Regions from separate parts of the Homo sapiens genome. Here region 2 is linked to region 1. Evidence: promoter capture Hi-C in 16 types of primary human blood cells and fetal thymus (Javierre and others, 2016). All regions are on one chromosome and are shown on one strand. Each heading gives the region's core, a stretch centred on a gene start or on the middle of the fragment in contact. The rest is flanking DNA. Distances are from core to core; before and after follow the strand shown. Region 1 holds the start of GPR68 (G protein-coupled receptor 68). Region 2 overlaps RPS6KA5 (ribosomal protein S6 kinase A5).

What was found. Contacts are between HindIII fragments. The CHiCAGO score rates a contact against its expected background, and 5 or more counts as called.
Region 2: a fragment that was not itself captured here is called in contact with the fragment with the promoter of GPR68 in region 1 in 3 of 17 cell types (naive CD4 T cells, activated CD4 T cells and naive B cells); the score reaches 6.6 in naive CD4 T cells.

Annotation. Positions count from the first base shown.
Region 1 is chr14:91,242,101-91,248,898 of GRCh38, forward strand. GPR68 (G protein-coupled receptor 68) reads right to left here and starts at 2,604. Exons shown (of 2, transcript NM_001177676.2): 1 at 2,197-2,604. RefSeq lists enhancers at 1,132-1,241, 2,301-2,802, 2,322-2,371. The HindIII fragment of the contact is 37,333 bases long and covers 1-6,798 here.
Region 2 is chr14:90,893,706-90,900,503 of GRCh38, forward strand. RPS6KA5 (ribosomal protein S6 kinase A5) reads right to left here. Exons shown (of 17, transcript NM_004755.4): 11 at 6,403-6,536; 12 at 5,624-5,717; 13 at 708-878. Among named protein-coding and RNA genes, the nearest start is that of LINC02321, 69 kb to the left of the region's middle. The HindIII fragment of the contact is 3,657 bases long and covers 769-4,425 here.

The DNA of each region.
Region 1 (6,798 bases), core at 1,354-3,853:
TGTGACTGGATCTAAATAAGAGGTAGGCAGGGCGAGAGAGGAAACAGTGTGAAGCTGTAGAACTGGCAAGTAATTACAAGGGAGGTGGGGAACAACCAGGGGCAAATTGGAGATTTTTCTTGGTGCCTGGTCCTTATAGCCTCCCCAGAATTATTTGTTGGATGGATGGTGGAGAGGTGGGAGGGTGAATGAGTAAATGGAGGGATAGGGGTAGCCAGATAGATGGATGACTGGATGGCTGGATAGATGGATATATGGGCAGCTGGAGAGGTGAGTGGATAGATGGGTGGGTGGATGGATAAGTGGATGGGTGAATGTGTAAATGGATGCATGGGTGAGGGGTAGAGGGATAGAGGGATGAGTGAATGGGTGGACAGACGGACGTATGGGTGGGTGGATAGGTGAGCTGATGGAAGGGTGGGTGGGTGGGTGGGTGGGTGGCTAAGTGGATGGGTGAATGTGTAAATGGATGCACAGGTGAGGGGAAGATGGATAGATGGATGAGGGAATGGGTGGCAGATGGATTATGGGTGGGTGGATAGGTGAGTAGGTGAGTAGGTGAGTGAGTGGATAGGTAAGTGGTGGGGGGTTGAGGCTGGGTGCTGGGACAGTGAGGATATCATTAATAGAAACAGGAAAGTGAGGAGGAGGAATCACCGTGGTCCCCTCTCTGCTCAGCCTGCCTGAGCTGGTCTGAGGGTCCTGATTTTTCACCAGTGCCTTCCCTTCTACTGTTCCCTGAGGACAGGCACCCCCAGATGGAAACTCTGACTTGCCCTCTACCTCATCTCCACAGGAACCTTCCTCCTCAAAAATCAAAGAACACAGTGGATGCGAAAATATTCCATAAATGGAAAAACGTAGATGTAGAGAAGAACTAAGCCACATCTGTCGAGGGCCCTGCACTTGCCAGGCAAGTTTCTGAATGTCTGTTCTCTCTTTCAACACCACTCTCATCAGCTCCCACTTTACAGATAAAGAAACTGAGGCTCAGAGAGATGAACCAACCTGCTGAAGTCTCTGCAGTTGAGATGCGGCAGGCCAGGTCTGGAACTCGGACTGGTCCATACTTTCCTTCATGCTGTGCTGACTATCATGATCATCCCAGAACCACCACCCTCAAGCCCCCAGCTCAGCCAAGCTCCAGTCCTCACAGATGCTGCAGCAATGGCCACCAGGCTTGGTCCTGGCCTGGCCCCTTCACCTGGACTATGCTTTAGCAGGTCAACCATGTTTTCAACGCCCACTGAGGAAAACCAGCCACGTGGCCAGTCCGTAGTTTGGGAAGGCATTGGAGAAAAGAATCAAAATAACACTTTATTACCCAGCTAAAAAATTGAGAAAAACTATAGAGTGACTCAACGCCTGAAAGCAAATCTTTAGCAAATGCAAATCAGCATAGAGGTCTCTGAGGACTTTAATGACCAAGAGAAATTAAGCTCCCAACAGGAAGGAAAGGCCTCTCTGACTAAGCTAGGAGTCTCTTGCATGTCCCAAGTCAGAAGGCGGAGGTGCCTAAATGCTGGATTCCAGCTGGCACATAAATAGTGATCTAACTCGCCCCCCCTTTCGTGCAGCACACACCGGCACGCACACAGACAGTTACTCATGGTGCCAGGGCTGCTCACGGAACCCCAAACCCACAAGAGCTGGGGAGTTTCCCCAGGGCCCAGCTTCCTTTTCCTTCAGTTGGCCAAACCTCTGCATGCTTTAAGCAAGGCTGTTTCATTTTCTGAAAGTGCTTTATTTTTCCCTCTGAGGAGAGGGGAAACATCAGGATGCATTTTTCCTTAGTCCCCATTTTCCCCCCAGATCGCCTCACTCCAGCAACAACGTGGACCATAGCATCTCACTTCTAGAACCCTTGTCACTGTTTCAAAGGTCAGTCCCATCTGGGCCCACGAAGTCCCTGTGAGTCAGGTGGGCTGGCATTGCTAAGCCATTTCTCAGAACCTGAAGCCCAGAGAGGCTAATGCAGGGAGGCTCAAACTCACACAGTCAGTTGGGGTGGATCTGAATCCAGAACCCACGTGTCTAGGCACCAACTTGCTGCCTTTGAGCTTTTTGGATCACAAGCAATAGCAAGAAATACACCTGACATCGCGACCCAGAACACAGACACACACACACACACACACACACACACACACACACACATCTGTACAAAGCAACAAACTTCCCCAAAGCAATACTTACCCTACTTCTTGCCACGCACTCTGATCATTTCTATTCTATTTCAATTTTTTAAATGCAGGTCATGAGCTATGAAGTTGATTTACTGACCCATGAATGGGTCACAACCCGCAGTTTGGAAACAGCTGGATGGACCCCCACCTGTGCTTTCCAGCTTCTCCTAGAGCCTCAGGGCCCCAGGAAGGCAGTGTGGTCTCTGCAACCAGGTGAGGAGCAGGCAGCTGCTGAAATCAGGATGGAGGGAGTCCTCTGAGGGGGGACTCTGAAACGAGTCCTCTCTGACTCTGCCTGCCCCAGCTAGGCTCTGCCTTCAAACCTCAAACAGCTGGGCTTCCTGCAGAGGCTCTGCAGGAGCCTGGGCACCCTTGCAGCCACGATCCCAGCTCTCCCTCCAGCGACTTCCCGCAGCCTGAACCTCCCAGCTCCGGCTAGAAAATCCCCAGCTGGAGGCTGCCCATTCCCGAGCTGAGGCAGAATCATGTGAACTCCAATCTGGTGTCAGGCTGGGCGGTTGCCGAGGAACCACTCGCCAGCCAGAGGCTGAGGGCGGCGGAATGGCTCTCTCCACGCATCTTCCTCTGCTCTCCATGCAACCCAGAGTCAGTGAGCAGCCTCGCTGGGAATGTGAAAGCCTGAGCTAGGGGCAGGTGCCCTCAGGACTGTGGTGGGGGGATACAGGAGGAGGGGGTGGGCTAATTCTAGCCACCTTTCAGCACCTACAGGATACCGGGATCCAGGCAAGGGTGGGGGAAGCCGCCAACATCTGGGTCACTGGGGCTCAACCCTGGCCATGTGCATGAGAACATACCTGGGAGCCTACAAAAAAAATACCAATGCCCGGGCCCCACCCGGGGCTGGTTAAATCATGTTTCCTGGAAGTGACGTGCCAGCATCAGTGGCTCTAAAGCTCCCTGGACTGTTCTAAAGTGCAGTGAAGGTGGGCAGCCACGGATGTGGTGAAGCAGGTAGGATCCTGTTTGGCAGAGCAGCAGAGCGAAGGCAGTGGAGCTAAGGCTCTGGGCATCAGTAAGGATAGGGCGGGCATCAATGTTTTCAACTGTGTCGGTCCCCAGAGAAGGAATCAAGCCCAGGGCTCTGGCCCCGGGGGCCCTTCTGGCTCTCAGGAGCACTTACTAAACTCCCTCCCTCACACACATAACACGGAGGATGGAAAGGCCCAGCATTTTGGCGTAACCACCTCCCTCCAAGGCAGACTCCTTGGAAGCTGATTATAAGCTACGTTGCCAGAGCCAGGAAGCCAACAGATACGGTGCATGGGGCCACTGGGGGTGCGAGTCCTTCCTGCTGGAAGTGGCCAGAGCCCTGTGCTTGGTCCCTGCTCTGGGGACCAACACAGTTTAAAACACTGATGCCCATCTTATTCATGCCAAGAGCCTTGGCTCCACTGCCCTCACTCTGTTGGTAGGGGGTCTAAGGAAATCCCCTTCAGTGGGGCCTGGGCCCTCCAAGCAAATGCTACCACATAGCAGGCCTTTTAAAAACTATTTCCGGCCAGGTGCGGTGGCTCACGCCTGGAATCCTAGCACTTTGGGAAGCCGAGGCGGGTGGATCACCTGAGGTCAGGAGTTGGAGACCGGCCTGGTCAACATGGTGAAACCCCATCTCTATTAAAAATACAAAAATTTGCTGGGGGTGGTGGCGCATGCCTGTAATCCTAGCTACTCGGGAAGCTGAGGCAGGAGAATCACTTGAACCTGGGAGGCAGAGGTTGCGGTGAGCTGAGATCATGCCATTGCACTCCAGACTGGGCGACAAAAGCGAAACTCCGTCTCAAAAAAAAAAAAGTTTCCTACGTCAGTTGCTTCTTGCAGGCCTTATGTTACGAGCAAAGGCTTCAGCTTGTTGTGGTGCAGTAGCGTGCATTTAGACACACGTGCTACTTCTGAGTTGCGGAAGTGTGGCTGGCTTTCCCTGATGTCATATAGGAGGACGCGGGGTTAGGAGCACAGAACTGACTTAGCAGTGACTGCCTGGCTTACCCCTAGGACACAACCTGCCAGAGAGAGCACCTCTGGCCCTCTACGGGGTGGCCTGTCCTAACAGGGTGTGCACACACCGGCCGTCTACACCATCATCGTCTATACCTGCAGGAACCACTAATGGCATGGTGTCCCCTCCCGCCTCCAGCCCTGCCAGGGGCTGGCAAGCTGCCCCAGCCCCTCTGCTGGCAGCATGTGCCCTACTGCACCTGGAGTAAGGACCATGCCTTTGGGATGAAGGAGGGGTGAAACTTTCTTTGGTTTTACTCAAATTGGCTGAGCCCAGGTCTTTGTGAAATGCTAGCTCAGTAAGAGAAAAAAGAGCCCATGCTCTCTCATGTGCTTGGCCCTCAAGGAGTTAGAAAATAGCCTGGAGTGGCTCAGTGCCAAGAGCTCCCTTTACCATTTCCTGAGCATTTGCTTTGCACCAGGTGCTGTGCCCATCCTTTGTTTAATCCTTATATCAACTCTGTGTGGCAGGGATTATCCTGTTGCCCAGGCTGGAGTGCAGTGGTACCACCTCCACTCACTGCAACCTCCACCTCCTGGGTTCAAGCAATTTTCCTGCCTCAGCCTCCCAAGGAGCTAGGATTACAGGCATGCGCCACCACACCAGGCTAACTTTTTTTTTTTTTTTTTTTTTTTGAGATTCGCTCTTGTTGCCCAGTCTGGAGTGCAATGGCGTGATCTCGGCTCACGGCAACTTCCACCTGCCAGGTTCAAGCTATTCTCCTGCCTCAGCCTCCTGAGTAGCTGGGATTACAGGCATGTGTCACTATGCCTGGCTAATTTTGTATTTTTAGTAGAGATGGGATTTCTCCATGTTGGTCAGGCTGGTCTTGAACTCTCGACCTCAGGTGATCCGCCCACCTCGGCTTCCCAAAGTGCTGGGATTACAGGCGTGAGCCACCACACCTGGCCCTAATTTTTGTATTTTTAGTAGCGATGGGGTTTTGCCATGTTGGCCAGGCTGGTCTCAAACTACTGGCCTCAAGTGATCCACCTGTCTTGGCTTCCCAGAGTACTCAGATTACAGGCGTGAGCCACCGTGGCTGGCTGAAACAACATCGATTTCTTATCTTGCAGTTTTGGAGGTCAAAAGCATGACATCGATCTTACTGGCTAAAATCAAAACTGCAGTCTGCAGGGCCGCATTCTTTCTTGAGGCTCTAAAATCCATTTCCTTGTCTTTCCAGCTTCTAGAGACTTCTAGCATACTTTGGCTTGTGGCATCTTCCATCTTCAAAGCCTACAGCAGTCAACTGAGTCCTTCTCACATCACATCTCCTCTTCTGACTCTCATGTTCCCTCTTCCACTTCAAAGGGTCCTTGCTTGTGACAATGCTGGATCACTCCTTACTTTAAGGTCAGCTGATTAGGAGTCTTAATTCCACCTGCTGCCTTAATCTCCCTTTGCCACGTAAGGTAACGCAGTGGCAGGTTCTGGGGATTAAGAACTGGGCCTCTTTAGAGAGGGCATTATTCTGCCTCCCACACCCACCTTGTGATACTTACTTAAAACCCTGTATAGTGCTGGCTGGGTGAGGTGACTCATGCCTATAATCCCAGTACTTTCGGAGGCTGAGACGGGTGGATTGCTTGACTCAGGGTTTGAGACCAATCTGGGCAACATGGTGAAACCCCGTCTCTACAAAAAATACAAAAAATTGGTGGGTGCAGTGGCATGTGCCTGTAGTCCCAGCTACTCAGGGGGCTGAGGCTGGGGAATTGCTTGAGCCCAGAAGGTGGAGGTTGCAGTGAGCCGAGATCACACTTGGGCGACTAGAGTGAAACCATGTGTCAAGCAAAACAAAACAAAACAAAAACCCTGTACAGCGCTGCTTCTCGAATGTTAGTGTGCATGTATTATACATCTCCCAGGAATCTTGTTAGTGTATCTTCTGGTTCAGTTCAGTAGGTCTGGGGTAGGGCCCGAGATTCTTCCCTTCTTTTTTTTTTGAGATGGAGTCTCGCTCTGTCACCCAGGCTGGAGTGCAGTGGCGCAATCTCAGCTCACTGCAAGCTCCGCCTCCCGAGTTCACGCCATTCTCCTGCCTCAGCCTCCTGAGCAGCTGGGACTACAGGCGCCCGCCACCACGCCTGGCTAATTTTTTGTATTTTTAGTAGAGATGGGATTTCACCGTGTTAGCCAGGATGGTCTTGATCTCCTGACCTCGTGATCTGCCCTCCTCAGACTCCCAAAGTGCTGGGATTACAGGTGTGAGCCACCACGCCCGGCCTGATTCTGCCCTTCTAACATGAACTGAGGACCACCTTTATCTCTTGTATCCCCATGGCAATTGCTATAATGCTGCACAAGTGTTTGGACTAAATAAATACTTGATAATGGAAAGGGCCAGGCATGGTGGCTCACAGCTGTAATTCTAGCACTTTGGGAGGCCAAGGCAGGAGGATCAATTGCTTGAAGCCAGGAGTTTGAGACCAGCCTGGGCAAAAAAGTGAGACCTTGTCTGTACAAAAATTTAAAATATTAGCTGGTTGTGGTGGCCCGCACCTGTAGTCCCAGCTAGTTGGGAGGCCAAGAAGGGAGGATCCCTTGAGCCTGAAAGTTTGAGGCTGTAGTGTCCAGCCTGGGTAACAGAGA
Region 2 (6,798 bases), core at 1,347-3,846, 350 kb before region 1:
TTATCTTTTTATACAGTATTGATTTTCGTTTTTCAATTTTCATTATTTTGTTGATTTTCTAAAAGGAGGGAATTTTCATATTTTTGATACTAAAAAGGGATCATTCTAAGAGTTAGAACATTCTTTATTAGCCTTTCATAAGAGGAGACATATAAATAGCTGTTACTTTTGCATTGCTACATATAGTTCTATAAATATTATAGCACGATCATAGAAAAGCACATAGAAAGACGGCATAACTAATTAAACCAAGACAACTCTTTAAGTATTTAGAATAGAATTATATACATTTTTATTCATGAGCTAACCAATTTGATTACAAATGTAAAAAATAAGTTTTCAAAATACATCATTTGGAAAAAAAACCCTCTAAAATTATATGTAAGAGATATTATTTTCTGCTATAAAAATTTCCATTGCTATTTTTAGTCCACAACTGTTGCATAAAGTATTTTTTCCATAAAAGGTTCTCACACTTACAAATATAACCTCAAGATGATCAGCTGGCAAAAAATAAACAAAGACAAATTTATTTTAGACTGAAATATAAAAGAAAAAACATCAAAGAAACGTATTTTCAATTATCTATTTAACAGCCTTGAAAAGTAAAAAAATAAGGAAACCTCCCCAGAAACTTCCCCCATGTTTGGGAGATCTTTAATAATGGTGCTAGACTGAATTACGTAAGAGATCCAGTGATTTTATACCTCAGGTTTCAGATCCCTGTGCACCACTCCAACATCATGCATGTGGCTTACAGCTGAAACAAGCTTCCTCATGATGTAGCTGGCTTCCGTCTCACTGAAGTGCTTCTTTTTCTTAATGCGCTCAAACAGTTCTCCTCCATTCAGAAGTTCCATCACTAGAAACGTGTGAAGCTAGAAAAGAGAAAGAATAACGTGGAGGGCCTTCCTGAAGCACAGAAGTCTATTAACATATAAAACATTTATTGACTATCTACCACCAATACGTTTAAATAATCCCCTGTTAAAATAATCAATGGCAATCCTCATATCTTAGAGAAAAGGGCTGAAAGATAATGTAGCTGTTTTATAATTCTATTTTGGTAATGGAAAATTTCAAGTACTGCAGTGAAATCTTTATACTGTATATCCTTTTTCCCTTCTGTGATGAATTCTTTCATTTGCAGTGTTTTGTTTTAAGAGATGAAGTCTCTAAAAAGAAATCTGCCCTTGAATTCCTGGGCTCAAGGGATTCTCTCATCTCAGGCCTCCCGATGAGCTGGGGCTATAGGTGTGCAATTGCATCCAGCTAATTCTTTCATTTGAATTCCACTCCAACCCTCTCTATCAAGTTTACACATCTTTCTTTTTAAACTGCTGACAATAATGTGACAATAATGTGAAGTCACTTGCTTTAAATAATACAGAATCTGAATACTGACTGAGTAGAATGGGCAACTGAGTAGGATGGGTGTGCCCATGTGAGGCCTGGCACACCCATCCAAGGCCTGGCACACCCATCCAATGGCAAATTAATCTTTTTAAAAGGGTAATGAGGCTGGGCTCAGTGGCTCACACCTGTAATCCCAGCACTTTGGGAGGCTGAGGTGGGAGGACTGCTTGAGGTCAGGAGTTCAAGACCAGCTTGGTCAACACAGTGAGACTGTCTGTACAAAAAAAATTAAAACATAAAAGTTTAAAAAGGTATTGTTTGATATTGTCATTTTGAACCTCCTGTTAGGACTCAACAGATTAGTTTCAGGGTTCCTGTTAATATTCATTACAAATACCCATAACTCACTATGGGTTTTTGCTTTAATCCCAACAATATTATCTTAATAGTTACTTTGTAAGTTATATGTTTACCATCCTTTCTCTTCTTCTCCACCCAGGCTCTTTTCTGTCAGAATGGATAATTTCCAAAAAATAATACAGGAATTATCAAAAAGCAAAGGGCTATAGATCCCAGCACATTTAGAGGCCAGGGTGAGAGGACTGCTTGAGCCCAGAAGCTCAAGACCAGCCTAGGCAACATAGTGAGACCTCATCTCTACAAAAAATAATAACAAAAATTAGCCAGACATGGTGGCGCACGCCTACAGTCCCAGCTACTCAGGAGGCTGAGGTGGGAGAATCACTTGAGCTCGGGAGGTCAAGGCTGCAGGGAGCCGTCACTGTGCCACTGCACTCCAGCCTGGGTGACAGAGACCCTGTCTCAAAAAAGAAAAAAAGCAAAGGACTTAATCAGCTCTCAAATGAACACAAATGGTTTAGAAAAAGATATCATGGCAATATACTGAATTCAGGTGCTATGCATTATAAGGCCAACATCACTTCACAAACAAAATGTTTCTTTCTGTATTAGCAAAACTCAGAATAAACTGCTTCATAAAAAAGACAATTATAAGTACATTATCCTGAAAGCATTAGACAAATTGCAGAGTGAACAACCCTTCTAACAAGAAAATTGCTCCCAGCCTACTAGACATCAAGCTAACTTGAGTTTCTACATCAGATAAAGTTGAGCTTGCAGGTCTGCTACAACTGTAGGCTGGTGAGCTTTAAAAAAGATGTAAGGCAATACTTGCAGTGGTGTACGAACAGATTTAGAGTTCAACCTGGATTTGAAGGTCAGTTCTGTTATTTATTCATGATCTTGGGATGCTACTTTATCTTATTAATTCTAGGATCCTTATCAATAAAATGCAGATAGCAATGAGAAAATGTATGCGTGGTAGAGCTTGAATGATGGCCCTCCAAAGTTGTTCATGTCCTAATGCCCAGAACCTGTGGTTGTTACCTTAGAAGGATGGCAAAAGGGCCTTTTGAGATGTGATTAGTAAATTAAGGAGCTTGAGATGTGAGATTATCCTGAATTATTCATCAGAGTTAGCAGTATGAGATGAGACCCTGGAGGCAAGATCTTAGAGTGATGCATGGAAGGCTCACAGCCAAGGAAATGTTGGGGGGTGTCTAGAAGCTACAAAAGGAAAGTAAATGGGTTGTCCCTTAGAGCCTCCAGAGCAGTGATCCTCAACATTTTTTTTCTTTTTTGTTTTCTTATTTTTTTGAGACAGGGTCTCACTCTATCACCCAGGCTGGAGTGCAGTGGTGCAGTCTTGGCTCACTGCAACCTCCGCCTCCCAAGTTCAACGGATTATCCCACCTCAGCCTCCAGAGTAGCTAGGACTACAGGCGCACAACACCACGCCTGACTAATTTTTTGTATTTTTTGGTAGAGATAGGGTCTCACCATGTTGGCCAGACTGGTCTCAAACTCCTGACCTCAAGTGATCCACCTGCCTCACCTTCCCAAAGTGCTGGAATTACAGGCATGAGCCAGGTCCGCAACTTTTTTGGCACCAGGAAATGGTTTCACGGAAGGCAATTTTTCCATGGACGAGGGGAGGCAGTAGTGGGGTGGGACAGGCATTAGATTCTTATAAGGAGTGCTGCAACTTTGATCCCTCGCCATGCGCAGTTCACAATAGAGTTTGTACTCCAGTGAGAATCTAAGGCTGTCGCTGATCTGCCAAGAGGTGGAGTTCAGGCAGTAATGCTGGCTCACCTGCCACTCACCTCCCGCTGTGCACCTGGTTCTGCTCAAGAGGGAACCAGCTCTGGTGACAGCTTGACTTTAAGCCAATGGGCCTGATTTTGGACTTCTGACCTCCAGACTGCAGGATAATAAATTTGTATTGTTTTAAGTTTGTGGTGATTTGTTGCAGCAGCAATAGCAAACTCATGGAGTACGTGAAACGCATATCATGGCACACAAAATGAACTATGCTATTGCACAAAGGCTGAAGACCCACCATAACCAATTTCACCCATTAGTTGAAGAAAAGACTGGATACAGGGATGATCTAGGCAACTGTGCCACCATTATGAGAAAACCCAAGATACATTACAACTGCATATTAGATTGATAATGTATTTATACTAGTTTGTATAGGATTATATCATGTGACAATTTATATTTTAGTAACTCCTGAATATATAAATAGCAAAACATCTACTTAATTTGTGACACAAATAAAAAATTAGAAATGTTGTTCATGGGACCTGACATTAGTCTGAAGGTCAGAGATCAAGTATCTTGTCTGGGATGTAGTTATGGGCACAGCTGCAAACCCAGAGGAGAGCATCTAAGATCACCCGTTGATTCCTTGAATGATGTGAATTTCCTCTATATCATCTTCAACAGGAGACTGTCTAGTGAGCCTCTTCTTAAGCACCTTCGTGGCCAGGGGACTCATTACCTCCTCTTGTGTCGAGTGGCTTGATGAGGCAAGAGGAGGTAGAGGATCAGGGAGAGCGGTTCCCCCTGAGTCCTTGCTTCAGTGGCATTTCTTTTCTGACTACAAGAACCAAAGAGTGAGTAGAGGATGATGCCATTTTGGGATGCTTACTGCCAGATGTGATTCTGCCTTCCCTAAGGCAGTAGTTTAAAGTAAATAAAAGCTTGTTGGGCTCTGAAGTTGGACTGTGTGGATTCAGATCCCAGCCTTACCACACTTACCAACTGTAAGACCTGTTACTTAACTTCTATGAGTGTCCATTTTCTCACCTCATGGACCTATGGTAAGGACTGAATAAGACAATACATGCAGAGTGCCTGGTACAGAACCTAGACCACACAAGATATGTGATAATAAATGGCAGCAGCTATTATGGTTATGGTGCTACTGCTGCTGCTGCCTGGTCTCACCATGATGTATCATTCCTGGCAATAGCACTCGAGGATATTTCAATGTGGTAGAGAACTGGGCCCCATCGATCCTAGGTCACAGATATTACAACAGCACAACAAAGAGAGCCCAGAACTGGAGTACAGGTTCTCCTTATTAGATTCGCATTGACATGCTATGTGACCTTAGACAAGTTTTATGAACATTCAAAATCTCAGTTTCTTTATTGGTAAAATTAGGGCAAAGCACATTCAGGATTGGTTTGTGCTCTTGTGCCTCCAAGTTGTCTTAAGTAGGACTGCATCACCCCACCTGGTCTCAGGGGCAGAGAAGTGTAATGGAGCAATTTCTGTCATGTGTGAGGTGAACAGACACGAACTGGACACACTGGCATCCTCCCATAGTTCCTGCTGCAAAGCAGGACTGAGAGCAGAAGAGGGGGCAGCATGATCTGGCCAGGGTTCTGAGCAGAATTTACCACCTGGAGCTAGAAGATAAAAGGAGTATCTTTGCTTTCTGCTTCCTATTTGTCCTTTAGCTTGCATTAATTAGGCTCCAGGCTCTCTCAGTTTTACTCTAGAAGTGAAAGGGAAGTTGGAGGCTCAAAATTCCTGAGTCCTGAGAGGTACTCCAGGATTAAGTGATGGTGGGTAGAAGCGGCACTGGCAACAAGCACATTGTAGCCAGTGACTGCACCACTGAGCTCCTGGCCCTCCGTCTTCCTGTCATAGGTGGTTAACTGCTGAGTGAGAAAAGCATGAGAGGTGAAGGGATAACCTGATTTGGGGTTGGGAAACAGTGTGTGGTTGGGGAGGGGTTTGAGAGGGTGGTTTCACTGCCCTTTCTGGTGGCTGGGTGATGTTCTATATCCCTGACTCTGACCCAGCAGCACCAACAAAACGCGTGAAAAGTACAACCCTGTAAGTGAATTAGTACACATGGGAAAAAAAAAAAAAAAAAGTAGGATACCTGATCATGAAAAACTTCATGCAACTTCACAATATTGGGGTGTCCTTCACAGAGTTTCAGAGCTGTTATTTCCTTTTGAGTATTGGCTTCCATCCTGCAAGATGAGACACTTAGCATCCACATGTCTCTTCAAGAAAGTTTTTATATCAGTACTGCCCCAAGACTAATTTTGTCTTATTTACAGTGCATTCAGAATATACATGTTACAGTATACTGTAATGAGGTTTCCATGAAAGTAATGAATTATACCACACACTAGAAAAAGTAATATTCTGGAGAAAATTATTATTTCTGAGTCAGAAAAGTACAAATCATATGAGGAAATGAATGCTCTACTTTCCTGACAATTTAGAGTAATAAGAATATGCAATCTTAATAATAATCATCAGTTACCAAAACAACTAGATGGCTCTCAAAGCTATCAGTAGCTTGCTAAATAATTTTAGAGAAAAATATTTCAAATACACAACTAGTAGAAATGGCAATGGCTGCCAAAATCACTATGTGAGCCTGATTAAATATGTCACTGTCACAAAGACGTTTTCTCTAGATAAACTCAAAAGCAAATAAGACTATGATTTATGTCTAAAATGGATTACTTTATCAGAAAATATCAATTAGAGCTAAAAGTATAATGGACCAACTGATGAGCCAAGTGGTTAAACCTTTGGGTAAGAAAGTCTTACAATATAATACTGGTTTCAATTAAAATAAATATCTTTTAATTTACAGAATTCATGAATACCTAAGAAAGAATATTATATTAAAAATGGTCATACCTTTTGCTGATTATTTTGACTGCAAAAGCTTGGTTACTTTTTTTATGCACACACTTTCGACAAATTGAAAAACTACCTTCTCCCAGGGGTTTGTCCTTCAAATCTAGGTCATAGTGTTGATAGAATGGAGAGTCCTGTCAAGAAATCAACATCATTTAACTTCAGAAAATGTCAGTAATACACAAAGGATCAATAAAATTGTAGAGTAAAATAAAATTATTAATATTAATAAACAGGAATAGAATACATTTATAATCTAAAATTCATCTTTATAGGTAACTTCTATTTTCATCTAAATAATTATTTAAGATACATAATTCTCTATAATTGTAAAAAGAAGTTCATTCAACTTGACGTTAATTCTCTAGGGAAAATATTGCTATATCCCACTTTTAA